4 separate regions of the Homo sapiens genome follow, and regions 2, 3 and 4 are each linked to region 1. Evidence: promoter capture Hi-C in 16 types of primary human blood cells and fetal thymus (Javierre and others, 2016). All regions are on one chromosome and are shown on one strand. The core of a region is centred on a gene start or on the middle of the fragment in contact, and the rest is flanking DNA. Distances in the headings are between cores, read along the strand shown.

The links. Contacts are between HindIII fragments. The CHiCAGO score rates a contact against its expected background, and 5 or more counts as called.
Region 2: a contact is called between a fragment that was not itself captured here and the fragment with the promoter of CLECL1 in region 1, in 1 of 17 cell types (activated CD4 T cells). The highest score is 5.4, in activated CD4 T cells.
Region 3: the fragment with the promoter of CLEC2B here is called in contact with the fragment with the promoter of CLECL1 in region 1 in 7 of 17 cell types (monocytes, non-activated CD4 T cells, activated CD4 T cells and 4 more); the score reaches 7.6 in monocytes.
Region 4: a contact is called between a fragment that was not itself captured here and the fragment with the promoter of CLECL1 in region 1, in 1 of 17 cell types (activated CD4 T cells). The highest score is 5.1, in activated CD4 T cells.

What each region holds. Positions count from the first base shown.
Region 1 is chr12:9,731,836-9,734,649 of GRCh38, forward strand. CLECL1 (C-type lectin like 1) reads right to left here and starts at 1,262. Exons shown (of 2, transcript NM_001441815.1): 1 at 1,114-1,262. The coding sequence starts at 1,195. The HindIII fragment of the contact is 6,540 bases long and covers 1-2,814 here.
Region 2 is chr12:9,913,935-9,916,914 of GRCh38, forward strand. It overlaps CLEC2A (C-type lectin domain family 2 member A), which reads right to left. Exons shown (of 5, transcript NM_001130711.2): 4 at 2,766-2,869. Among named protein-coding and RNA genes, the nearest start is that of CLEC2A, 17 kb to the right of the region's middle. The HindIII fragment of the contact is 6,691 bases long and covers 1-2,980 here.
Region 3 is chr12:9,868,104-9,870,890 of GRCh38, forward strand. It overlaps CLEC2B (C-type lectin domain family 2 member B), which reads right to left and starts at 1,251. Exons shown (of 5, transcript NM_005127.3): 1 at 1,102-1,251. The HindIII fragment of the contact is 5,556 bases long and covers 1-1,365 here.
Region 4 is chr12:9,936,815-9,939,832 of GRCh38, forward strand. LINC02470 (long intergenic non-protein coding RNA 2470) reads right to left here. Exons shown (of 5, transcript NR_104634.2): 4 at 2,249-2,356. Among named protein-coding and RNA genes, the nearest start is that of LINC02470, 5.2 kb to the right of the region's middle. The HindIII fragment of the contact is 6,613 bases long and covers 1-3,018 here.

The DNA.
Region 1 (2,814 bases), core at 12-2,511:
GAATGCGGAATCAAAAATATTGGTTTTGTTGCTTAAACTGAGTAAAATAACCTCTAGAAAAAGAAACTAACTACAGGACATTTTTGAAGCATAGGGGAATGACAGTGCAGTTCTAGTCCATGTTATTTTTCAAATTATGTTTCACTATTTCATAGGAAGTGAAAGTGCCTAAGCTGGAAGAAAAGAAAGCAAGTTAGCCTCTGCTGGGTAAAATAGAGAGGTAAGGTTTAAAATAAGAAACAAGATGCTTTTACAACCAGAAAAGGACACACACTAGATTCCTTTGATAACTATAAACTTTTGAAAATATAAAGAAGAAATACATTCCTTGGAAATACGAACAAAGTAGCAGATTCATTCCACAAGGGCAAATACAAAGGAGGAACTTTAAATTATTTAAAACACCTACATAAACTCTATGCTACAAAAATTCTTACCCTAGAGCAGAGAATGGAAATGTAACAAGACAGAGAAATTTCCTTAATACTTCAAAGAATAGAAAAGACACTGGCTATGAAAATCTATAATTTTTGAGGGGGTTTGGTGATGAAGGCACCATGTTAAGTTTAGGCATATGCTTATCGCCTCTGATTCCAGAAATATTCAATTACCTAGTCATTAATTCTAGACTTTATAAAATTAAATCTAACGTTTCATGTTTTCTTAAGTTTACATTTTTATCCTATTGATATTGTAAAAGAATAAATAACAATATGAGTAAATTGCCACAGGTATTTTTCCCAGTGGAGATGAATTTATCACATTATGTTAAAAGGTCAGATTTGATTGAGAGTGAGCAAAGCTGTGGAGCAGAAAGGCGTGATCCCGCTAGAAGTTGCTGTGTGAATATAAACATTCATCACGAGAAATCAAGAAATAGAAAGGCTATGAAAACAGAAGCAAAGTTCTACATATTAAAACCAAAGTGGCAATTTATTTTATGAACAGACATTTTGCTTCATTAAAAACATTCGCTCTTATTCTTAGCATTCAATGAATTTTGCTTTGAATCCAATCTCCTCTTTTCAGTTTGGCAATTAGATACATAAGAAAGAAATAAAGGAGATAACTAGTAAAATCTTAATTCTCAAAGGCACCCTAAATCCAGCTTACCAGATCTCTGAAGTGGAAACGCGAGTTCTAACGGGGAAGTCCGAACAGTTTTGATGTCAGCGTAGACTACATCTCCAGCCATTGCACAGATCAAAAAGAGAGAGAAGACCACAAATGATGTCCCACTGAAGGGACAATCATATTTCTGCAAAGAAACTTCTGATAAGTAAATTGAGATGGCAAATTTCCTTCTGCTCCCCAAGTGGGTGGTGGACTTCCTCCATGAATAAATGACAAAACCAATGTGTTCAGTCTTACTAATCAAGGTAGCAGATTTCTCGAATACTTGTATGACATGGAAGAAATTACTAACCATACAGTAGGTTCTCGTTTTTCAGTTAGTTTTCTGCCTAAACTTGAAATGCTTTTAACTTTTATTAATACCACAGAAGATATCTCACCATTTTCTCCTATAGACCACTTCCTCTTTTAGTTCAGGCATATATTCTCTGGCGGAAACTCTGAATTTCCAGCATCTTCTCCAAAGTAGGATAGCTATTTGGGAAACAGAACAAGAAAAAGAAGGGATTTTATTACGAAAGTTACAGAAAGGGGCCCTATGTCTTTTATCCTCCTCTCTAAATGCATTGTATTGTCTAGATAATACCTTAAAAATTCTGAAAGCTATTTGCTTTCCTGTATGCTTTATAATATTAACATTAAACTGAGGTAAAACATGAATTATGCAGAGGACTTCTGAACTAAAAAATATATATTTAAGAAACAGAAATAACTCTGTTAAAATAATTCAAGGTAATGACATAAAAGAAAAAAATCTAATTTTAAAATGAGGTGTTCAGAAATTTACTATCGAATACAACATAGCAAACATAGATTTTATCTCCTATTTCTTCTAAAATTCCACTAAAATTGAATTAAGTGAATAAAAATTTGTTAGTCTAAAACAATAACACAAAGGCTCAGGGTCCTATTAGTTGATGAAAAATTTCAACTAATTCCTGGAAAATGGAGAGTAGATGGAGATGTGATCATTGATGAAGAAGTAAAATCAGAGAAAAATGCAGCCAACACCATACAGAGGGAAATAATGGAGGAGAGCCTAGCTACCTGTGAAACCGTCATAGGACATAGAAATGTCAGATATGAAAAATGGCAGGATCCATTAGCTTATGACTAGTAGATTAACTGGAAATCTGCATATGGAAAAACTGGTTTTTTCAATACCCACTCAAGTGCATTCTGCAGAATTAATCTAAACTGCAGTCACCCCATCCCTACCCCTCATCCAAGAAATTTAACTTAGGTTAATTAAATAACTAGAGAACAGATCCTGGCTTTGTGGCATTTAGGGATCCCTCCTATAAAGACCAACTTCTGACCCTGGATGAGGCTTGAGCACCGACCTCTGTCTCTTAAGACTGCATGACACTCTCTCCCTTTTCTGGGCTGTTCCAACTGTTTGTATGTGACTAGACAATACCTACTACATACATGAAAAACTGACTTTTAGAGGTTTTATTATCTGCAGGTGGTTGCATAACCAATAATTTTTTTTTTTTTGAGACGGAGTCTCACTCTGTCACCCAGGCTGGAGTGCAGTGGCGCGATCTCGGCTCACTGCAAGCTCTGCCTCCCGGGTTCATGCCATTCTCCTGCCTCAGCCTCCCGAGTAGCTGGGACTACAGGCGCCCGCCACCACGCCCGGCTAATATTTTGTATTTTTAGTAGAGACGAGTTTCA
Region 2 (2,980 bases), core at 366-2,865, 180 kb after region 1:
TACAAAGACGGGGTAAAACCCTTCTTTCCTTCCATTCTTCCTTCCTTCCTTGGTTCTTTCCTTCCTTTCTTCTTTCTTTCCTTTCTATCTATATGCAAAGAGAGAGTGTTTGCCAAATTCAAAGATTCCTGAAATTAAAAAAATTCAGTTTTCTGGCATAATTTTAGGCAATGTACTTTTTCAAAAAGTAAAAATAAGATTTATATTTACTTGGTACTTTTGAAACATACTGCAATAGAAACCTAAGAGACTGCATACTGCAATAGAAACCTAAGAGACTGCTTATAGTCTTTTTTTTACATTTTATCCTCATGGATAGAAAGAATCAATATTGTGAAAATGGCCATATTGCCCAAAGTAATTTAAAGATCCAATGCAATACCCATCAAACTACCTTTGACATTCTCCACAGAATTAGAAGAAAACTACTTTAAATTTCATATGAAACCAAAAAAGAGCCCATATAGCCAAGACAATCCTAAACAAAAAGAGCAAAGCTGGAGGCATCATGCTACCTGACTTCAAACCATGCTACAAGGCTACAGTAACCAAAACAGCATGGTACTGGTACCAAAACAGACATACAGACCAATGGAACAGAATAGAGACCTCAGAAATAATGCCACACATCTACAACCATCTGAACTTTGACAAACCTGACAAAAACAAGCAATGGGGGAAGGATTCTCTATTTAATAAATGGCGCTGGGAAAACTGGCTATCCATACACAGAAAACTGAAACTGGACCCCTTCCTTACACCTTATACAAAAATTAACTCAAGATGGATTAAAGACTTAAATGTAAAACCCCAAACCATAAAACCCCTAGAAAAAAATCTAGGCAATATCATTCAGGACATAGGCATGGGCAAAGACTTCATGATGAAAACGTCAAAAGCAACAAAAGCCAAAACTGACATATGGGATCTAATTAAACTAAAGAGCTTCTGCACAGCAAAAGAAACTATCATCAGAGTAAACAAGCAACTAACAGAATGGGATAAAATTTTTGCAATCTACCCATCTGTCAAAGGTCTAATATCCAGGATCTACAAGGAACTTAAATAAATTTATAAGAAAAAAAACATCAAAAAGTAGGCAAAGGATATGAACAGACAACTCTCAAAAGAAGACATTTATGCAGCCAACAAACATTTGAAAAAAAAAGCTCAACGTCACTGATCTTTAGAGAAATGCAAATCAAAACAATAATGAGATACCATCTCATGCCAATCAGAATGGCAATTATTAAAAAGTCAAAAAACTAAAGATGCTGGTGAGGCTGTGGCGAGATAGGAATGCTTATACACTGCTGGTGGGAGTGTAAATTAGTTCAACCATCGTAGAAGACAGTGTGGTGATTCCTCAAGGATCTAGAACCAGAAATACCATTTAACCCAGCAATCCCATTACTGGATATATACCCAAAGGAATATAAGTAATTCTATTATAAAGACATATGCACACATATGTTTATTGCAGAACTATTTACAATAGCAAAAACATGGAATCAACCCAAAGGGCTATCAAAGATAGACTGGTTAAAAAAAAATGTGGTACATATACACCATGGAATACTGTTCAACCATAAAAAAGAATGAGTCCATGTTCTTTGCAGGGACATGGATGAATCTGGAAACTGTCATCCTCAGCAAACTAACACAGGAACAGAAAACCAAACACTGCATGTTCTCACTCATAAGTGAGAGTTGAACAGTGAGAACACATGGACACAGAAAGGGCAACAACACACACTGGGGGCAGTAGGGGGTGGGAGAAAGGGGAGGAAGAGCATTAGGACAAACAGCTAATGCATGTGGAGCTTCAAACCTAGATGATGGATTGGTAGGTGCAACAATCCACCATGGCACACACATACCTATGTAACAAACCTACACATTTTGCATTTGTATCCCAGAACTTACAGTAAAATAAAAATATATTTTTTAATTAATTTTCTTTGTTGATAAACAAATCTTTCCTTATTTATAAGTATAATTTGTCCTGTCTTGCATATTTCAATATTTGTTTTATTGGTTGCTTTTTTTAATCTAGCACGTTACTAAAATAATAAGGCAGAGATACATATGTATCCAAGAAACAATTATATAAATAAAAAAGTAAGCTAAATAAAAAATAAACAAAAATTAAAAAAATAAATATAATATTGCTTATGATGAACATTTGGAAAGCTAAAGACAACTATACAATCCTCAACCATTTTAACCCAAGAAACACTTTTAACAATTTTAACCCACCCAGGAAATGCTTACAGAAATAAAAATAAATAAAATAAGCAACAAATAAATAAAAACAAGTAGTATTCATTGTGGTGGGCATTTGGAATGTTAAAGACAACTATAAAGTCTTTAACCCTTTAAAGACAAAGAAATCTTATATACACTTTACTTGGAAAGAAGTACAAGTAATACGTGAGTTTTGGCTTAAAATTTGCAGAATGATTAAATTTGAATTAGCAAAAGAGAACTAATTGTCAAGCAAGAGCTTGATAATAAAGATAAAATAACAAATAAAAATAAAAATGGAAGATTTCACCATGTGTCATTTAACAAGGTGAGAAGAAAATGGGTTGCTCTAGGATATGCTTCAATGTGAAAGGGCATATGTCATCGATTGGAGACTGAAAAGTTAATTCCACATGGAAAACAGAAAGATTTGTTTATAATAATACAACTCAAAATGATTTAAAATTTTTCATATGACACACCAGAATAAGAACATTGCTAATACATTGGAAACTCACCAACCATTGAATGTGGTGCCATTTGTCCATTTCCAAGAATCTCCTTGTTTCCTGCTTAGTCCAATCCAGTGCATATCAGTTCCTGCGTACCTCTTCAAAAATTCCTTTCACAAAACAAAGGGAATCAGCGATTACTTAATATGTTACAGCACATTGCTGAACATGCTTCCCACCCCAATTATTCTATCTTTTAGGATTCACATTCTAATTTGTCT
Region 3 (2,787 bases), core at 1-2,500, 140 kb after region 1:
ATACTGAATATATTATTCAGTAACTTTTAAAATATATTCATATGTAATATGATATATAATATTGTATTATATAATGTATTTATATACAAATGTATAAATTTATACAATTGATTGAAAGTAGAAAATAACACTGGTTTTACTAGTGGCTGGAAGGCCTTCTTAAAACTTTTGATTAAAATGATATTTTATGCTACCATCAAATATTGATCTCATTCCCCGCAAACCTGTTTTATCTAACTTTAGGCAGAATTATAAAACCGGTTAAAATACGGGAGGAAGGATAAAGTGTGCATTCTATTGTACCACAGCAATAATTTTTTTGACCGTAGCATACGCTGGTAGGTTGACATTTAGTTAAACGGGAAATGCTTAAAGCTCATCACAGTCCCTAAATCTCTAAATCATAGATCGTTGTATTGAATGCATTTAGTTTCAGCCTTTTCTCTTTCAAATATTTTGACATAAATAAACCCTGTTGAAATCTCAAAGATGTAGCTTGGATCTTATATATTCCGAACTTGCTATTTAATAAATCCAATGTTACCAGGTTGTTTCATAGTGTATTTTTTAGAACATTTTCTTTCCTTATCCTTCTTAGGGTTGGTAAAGACATCTCCATGGATATCGGAGTACTAGCAATTCCTTAGTAAGAGTAGGAAAGGGATATATTCTTTCCGTTAAGTACTCCTAAAGCCCGGAGTATCTTTACACCATCCAATAAAGCAATCTTTAAAAATATTAGAACTATTGGCTAAATTTATCATATTATGTATGCATTCTGAGAACTGTATGAGTATCTGGATCATATCTATCATCTTCTCAAGTATTTGTTTTATAAAATACTTAGTAAAAATGAAACTAAATCTTGAGCAGTTTTAAGTCATGGTTAATCCTTCTCCATTGTAATTCAAATAATGTAAAGTAAGTCTGAATTTATTAGGACAAAACAGTCATATGCAAATCTCAATCTTGTTATAAGAAGGAATTTTCTAGTTTCACAAAAGAAACCACAAAATTTAATTCTTTTCTCGAAGGCTTTAACATTCTGCATCACAATTTCAATAAATAACGGTCATTCTAAACAAACAAAAATGTTCTTACCGTGCTTCTTTTAATCAGCGTTTTGATTTTCTGCTAGCAGCTTTGTGTCATGTCTTGCAGAAACTCTCTTCAAAGTTGTAACTTTATTTAACTTTAATATAAAAATGTTACTCTTGTTTTTACAGCACAGCTCCAAACTAGAGGTATACCACTTTTGAAGAGTAACTCAAAGTATAAATAGCATTTTGCAAACTGGAAGTAACCATGTGACTATCTATTAGTCATACTGTTGTTTATTACAATTTTCTTCTCGTCAAAAAAGAAAGCTTGCCAAGGAGGAAGGAAGTTTGTGATATAACAATTTAAAGCTGAAGAATAAACACATATTTTCTTACTTTCTCAACTGGGATTCTCATCTGAACCACAGAACACGAAATTGCTCAAGTGGCTGTTTTTCTGATTCATCCAGGAGTGGTACTTAACCACGTATCCTTCCAGAACTGTAGGAGAGGCTGATACTAATTAATTCAACAGCATTCTTTAGGACATTACTGCTTTCTTATCCTGTGTTAAGAAAGATCACCTTAAAAGCGATAGAATCAAAGAAAAAGCAATGGTTTAAACTTTGGCTACTGAAAGAAAAACAAAAACTATTATCTCTCTCTCAAAGACAAATGCGTGCAAAGTCACACGTGTGGGTGTGAGCACACACACAAACACACACAAAGACACACAGAGGGAAAAAAGAAAACGAAAGTAACAAAGTGCCCAGAACGTTATCATCAGCATACAAGATGACACCATTATGCTTTTGCTAAGTTACCAGGCCACAATTTTGTCTTCAAATCTGCTCTAATCAGTTTCCCAGTGATTTTGTATTACCCCTCAACAAATATATTAGGGAGGAAACTGAGGAGAAGAAGCCAGTGTCCCGCAAGCGGCTTCGGGATTAACACTGCATTTGTTCTGAGAGAGAAACTTGAAGAGGAAAAGCAAATGAGAATAGAGAAGAAACTGTAGTACAAAGGAATTAAAACAAAGAAAATATGAAGAGAATAAGAAATACAGGTTTAATCATTTCTGGGCAGAAGGAAAGGACAGATAACAAAATTGCTCTTTTCATTTTTGGACAGAAAAAAAAGACAGAAAATTCATGAGGAAATGAATATATTCTACCTTTGTTGTTAACAAAAGATTGTATCCAAAGAACTATTAGAAAAGCATGTATAGAAAAATATAGAGATTACTCAAGTATGGTTGAGTGAAATTTAGTTTTGTTCCAAAAAGGAAAACAGTCAAGATACAACAGTTAAGATATAAAACATTTTCAACACAGGGAAATGTTCCCCGCTGTTGCTTTGCAGTTCATCCTCACCCCTGAAGCCAGGCAGCAGCCAACTTACTGTCAATAAACATGAGCTTTGCTGGTTTTAGAAATTCCTGTTAAGCAGAATGATACAGTTGGCAATTCTTGTAAGTCTGATGTCTTTCACTGAGCATAATGTTTTTGAGTTTTATCCATGTTTTTGCACAGATCAGCAGTTAATTTCTTTTTATTACTGAGTAGTATTTCATTGTACAGACATAAAATATTTTTATCTATTTTATAATAAAATGTATCCATTATGACATTGAGCTTTTTCCACTTCTTGGATATCATAAGGTCAAAATAAACATTTATGCAAAAGTTTTTCTATTGACACGTTTTTTAATCTTTTGAAGAAATACCTGGATGTGAAACTGCTA
Region 4 (3,018 bases), core at 16-2,515, 200 kb after region 1:
CTAGTTTCAGCAACGACAGCAACAACAAATCCACTTAATGTAAATAATTCGCTAGTTTCATAACTTGACTAAAGACAAAACAAATAGATTAATTCTTTATTTACTGGACCTCCTGAGAAATAACTGAGCACAGCCTCGAAAATAGAACGTAAATTTCATTAGCCCGGTTTCTAAAACACGTGCAGTGTGGAAGGAGTAGAGGAAGTGAAACAAGCTGTTGCTCTCCTCCTATCTTTCTCCAAATTTTACCTCAGGACCCTGATGGCAGGAAGAAAAGGACACTATGTGACTTCAGTGCCTAACAACACAGTCCTGGAAGTTTACGCTGTTGATACTATAGCAAACATTGTAATCATTTTGTGAGGGATTGGATTCTTCCCTTTATACTGTAGCATAAACATTGATATATCAATGTGTTTAGCCATTTAGAAATTATAAAGAAGGGGAGTGTAACTGACATTTCATTGAACATACCTTTCATATATTACAAAATTGGTCTATTAATGCTGAAATAAATGTTCACATTTGGCCACTCTTTATCACCATCACTGTAGTGAAACAGGTATTCTTTACTCAATAGATTACGATACACATAAGTAAACAAATAAAATCTAAAGAAAAGATTTCCTACATTTATATTTTATGCCATACATATAAACATGTGAAATTCAAAATTCAAAACGGAGGAAAACAGGATGGTTAATCATGATACATTTCTGGTTATACTGTAATTATTTGGGGGAACTTCACAGTACTGGTGTACACTTTCCTAACTTCTAGGGTAACTTCAAATTTTTATCCTGCCCATTCCCAAAATATATGTGTATTTTTATGCTTATCCAATCCATAGTGCCAACTAATAACAACCGTTATGGGCTGAATTATAGGCCCCCAAATTTCATACATTAAGTGCCTAACTCCCAGTACCTGAGAATGTAACAGATTTGGAGATAAGGTATTTGTTTTTTTTAAAAAAGAAGTGATTGAGGTAAGAAAAGGTCTTTAGGGTGCACCTTAATCCAATATGACTGATGTCCCTATAAGAAGAAATAAGTTAGACACAGACTTGAGTGTGTACAGAAGGCCACATGAACACAGAGTGAGAAGACAGCCATCTGCAAGCCAAAGAGAAGGGCCTTAAAAGAAACCAACCCTACTAACACCTTGATCCTGGACTTAACGGCCCCCAGAGCTGTCTTTGAGCCACCCATTCAGTGGCATTTATTACAGCAGACTTAGCAAATTAATACACCAATGTTAACTCCTGTCTCATTTTTTGATGGGCCTGTATATAATATGTAATGCCACATTAAGCTGTTAATATTTTCTTTCAAGAAAATATAATATTATGTTTTATAGTCAGAAAGTTTAATCTGTCTTTTTTTTTTACATTTTTCAAAGATAAAATATAATATTGGGTATATTATCCCTCTCAAATCATTGTGCATTTTCACCCCAAATTGAATGTAAATACAATAATCATAAGAGAATTTTCTCAACTTTAGAAAGTTCCGCTACTAACTTTATTATATTATATACAACATGTAATATCTGGCATGGAGTGCTACAGAACCAGTATCTATTACAAAGTGGGCAGTCAATAAATGGTAGCTAGTGGTCACCTTTAGTTCACCAAAGAATACTGAGAACTCAATATCCTTTATATGACCTTCTCCACCCTGACGTTGGAGAAATTTGTAAGTGTTTTAAGAACAAAATAGATTCTAAGTGTATGATGAGTTTTTTCAAGCTATGGAATATAAAGAAGTTCTTGAATTTTAAACAAAGGTAAACTGAGGCAAACACGTTCTCTTCTTAACTTACTCTTGTGCATGTCAGGCCACTGGTGGGTGCGGAAAGTGTAGGCTTCAGTACACTCTCTAATGCTCTCCCATCAATGAAAGGCCAAAGGAACAACAACAAAAAAAACAAAAACAAAAGGCAAGGTCCCAGGTCCAAAGAGGAAAGGATCAAACTGCTTAGACTTGCATCCAGTTCAGGATAAAGGGAACACTTGTGACTCACATGTGGTATATACCAATTCCATATATATACATAAATATTGATATGTGATGCCAAACCCTCACTAAAAACCGTAACTTTGTCTAAATATTCTCTTTGGCATCTATTTTTTGAGGGTCTTTTGGGGGGATGATGTGGAGGAATCTATGGAGGAAGCCAGTTATAGACTCAGAATCTTTACCACGCTTTACACATTTAATAGTAAATACATGTTAGTAAGGCTTACCAATTGCTGAATGTAGCTCCATCTGCCCACATCCACGTTTTGTTTGCATTGTGCTTGCTCAGTTCAAACCAATATAAAGACGGCCCCAGATAATGCATCAAAGATTCCCTTTACAAAATACAGAGTGCTGTCATAGATTTCTTCTAGTTTTCTCATTCTCACTCCCTCCAGTGCCCTTTAAGTCTATTATTATCTTGCACAGTTACTGCAAAGGCCGTATAACATGATTCCCTCCGTTTACATTTGAGACTCAGTAGCCAACCTCATCACAGCAAAGATTATGATTCTTTTAAAACTTAAGTCAGATCCTATTACATTTTCCCTCATAATTTGGCAGTATCTCCCTATTTTGCTTGGAGCAAAAACTAAACTCTTTACAATAGCCTGCAAGACCCTAATGATCCGCATTCTTCACTCAATCCCTCATTTTAGATAGATTGACTGGCTGCTTCTTTTCTGTTCCTTGAATATTCCAGACATTCACTGGCCTTAAGACACACGCTCCAGCCATTTTCCTTTCCTGGAAAGTTCACTTCTAGATAGTCCCTTACCTGCTTCACATCCTTCCTAAAATGTCACCATCTTATTGGGATATAACCTTACCTGCAGTAAACCCACTCCCTTAATTTTCATTTTTTTGCATAAAACTTTCCAACTTCTAACACAATATATAAATTACATATTTAATAAGATAATTTTTCATTGCTTATCTCTTCCCCTAGCATGTAAACTCCACAAGGGCAAAGATCTTTGATTCTTTGGTTTGCTAA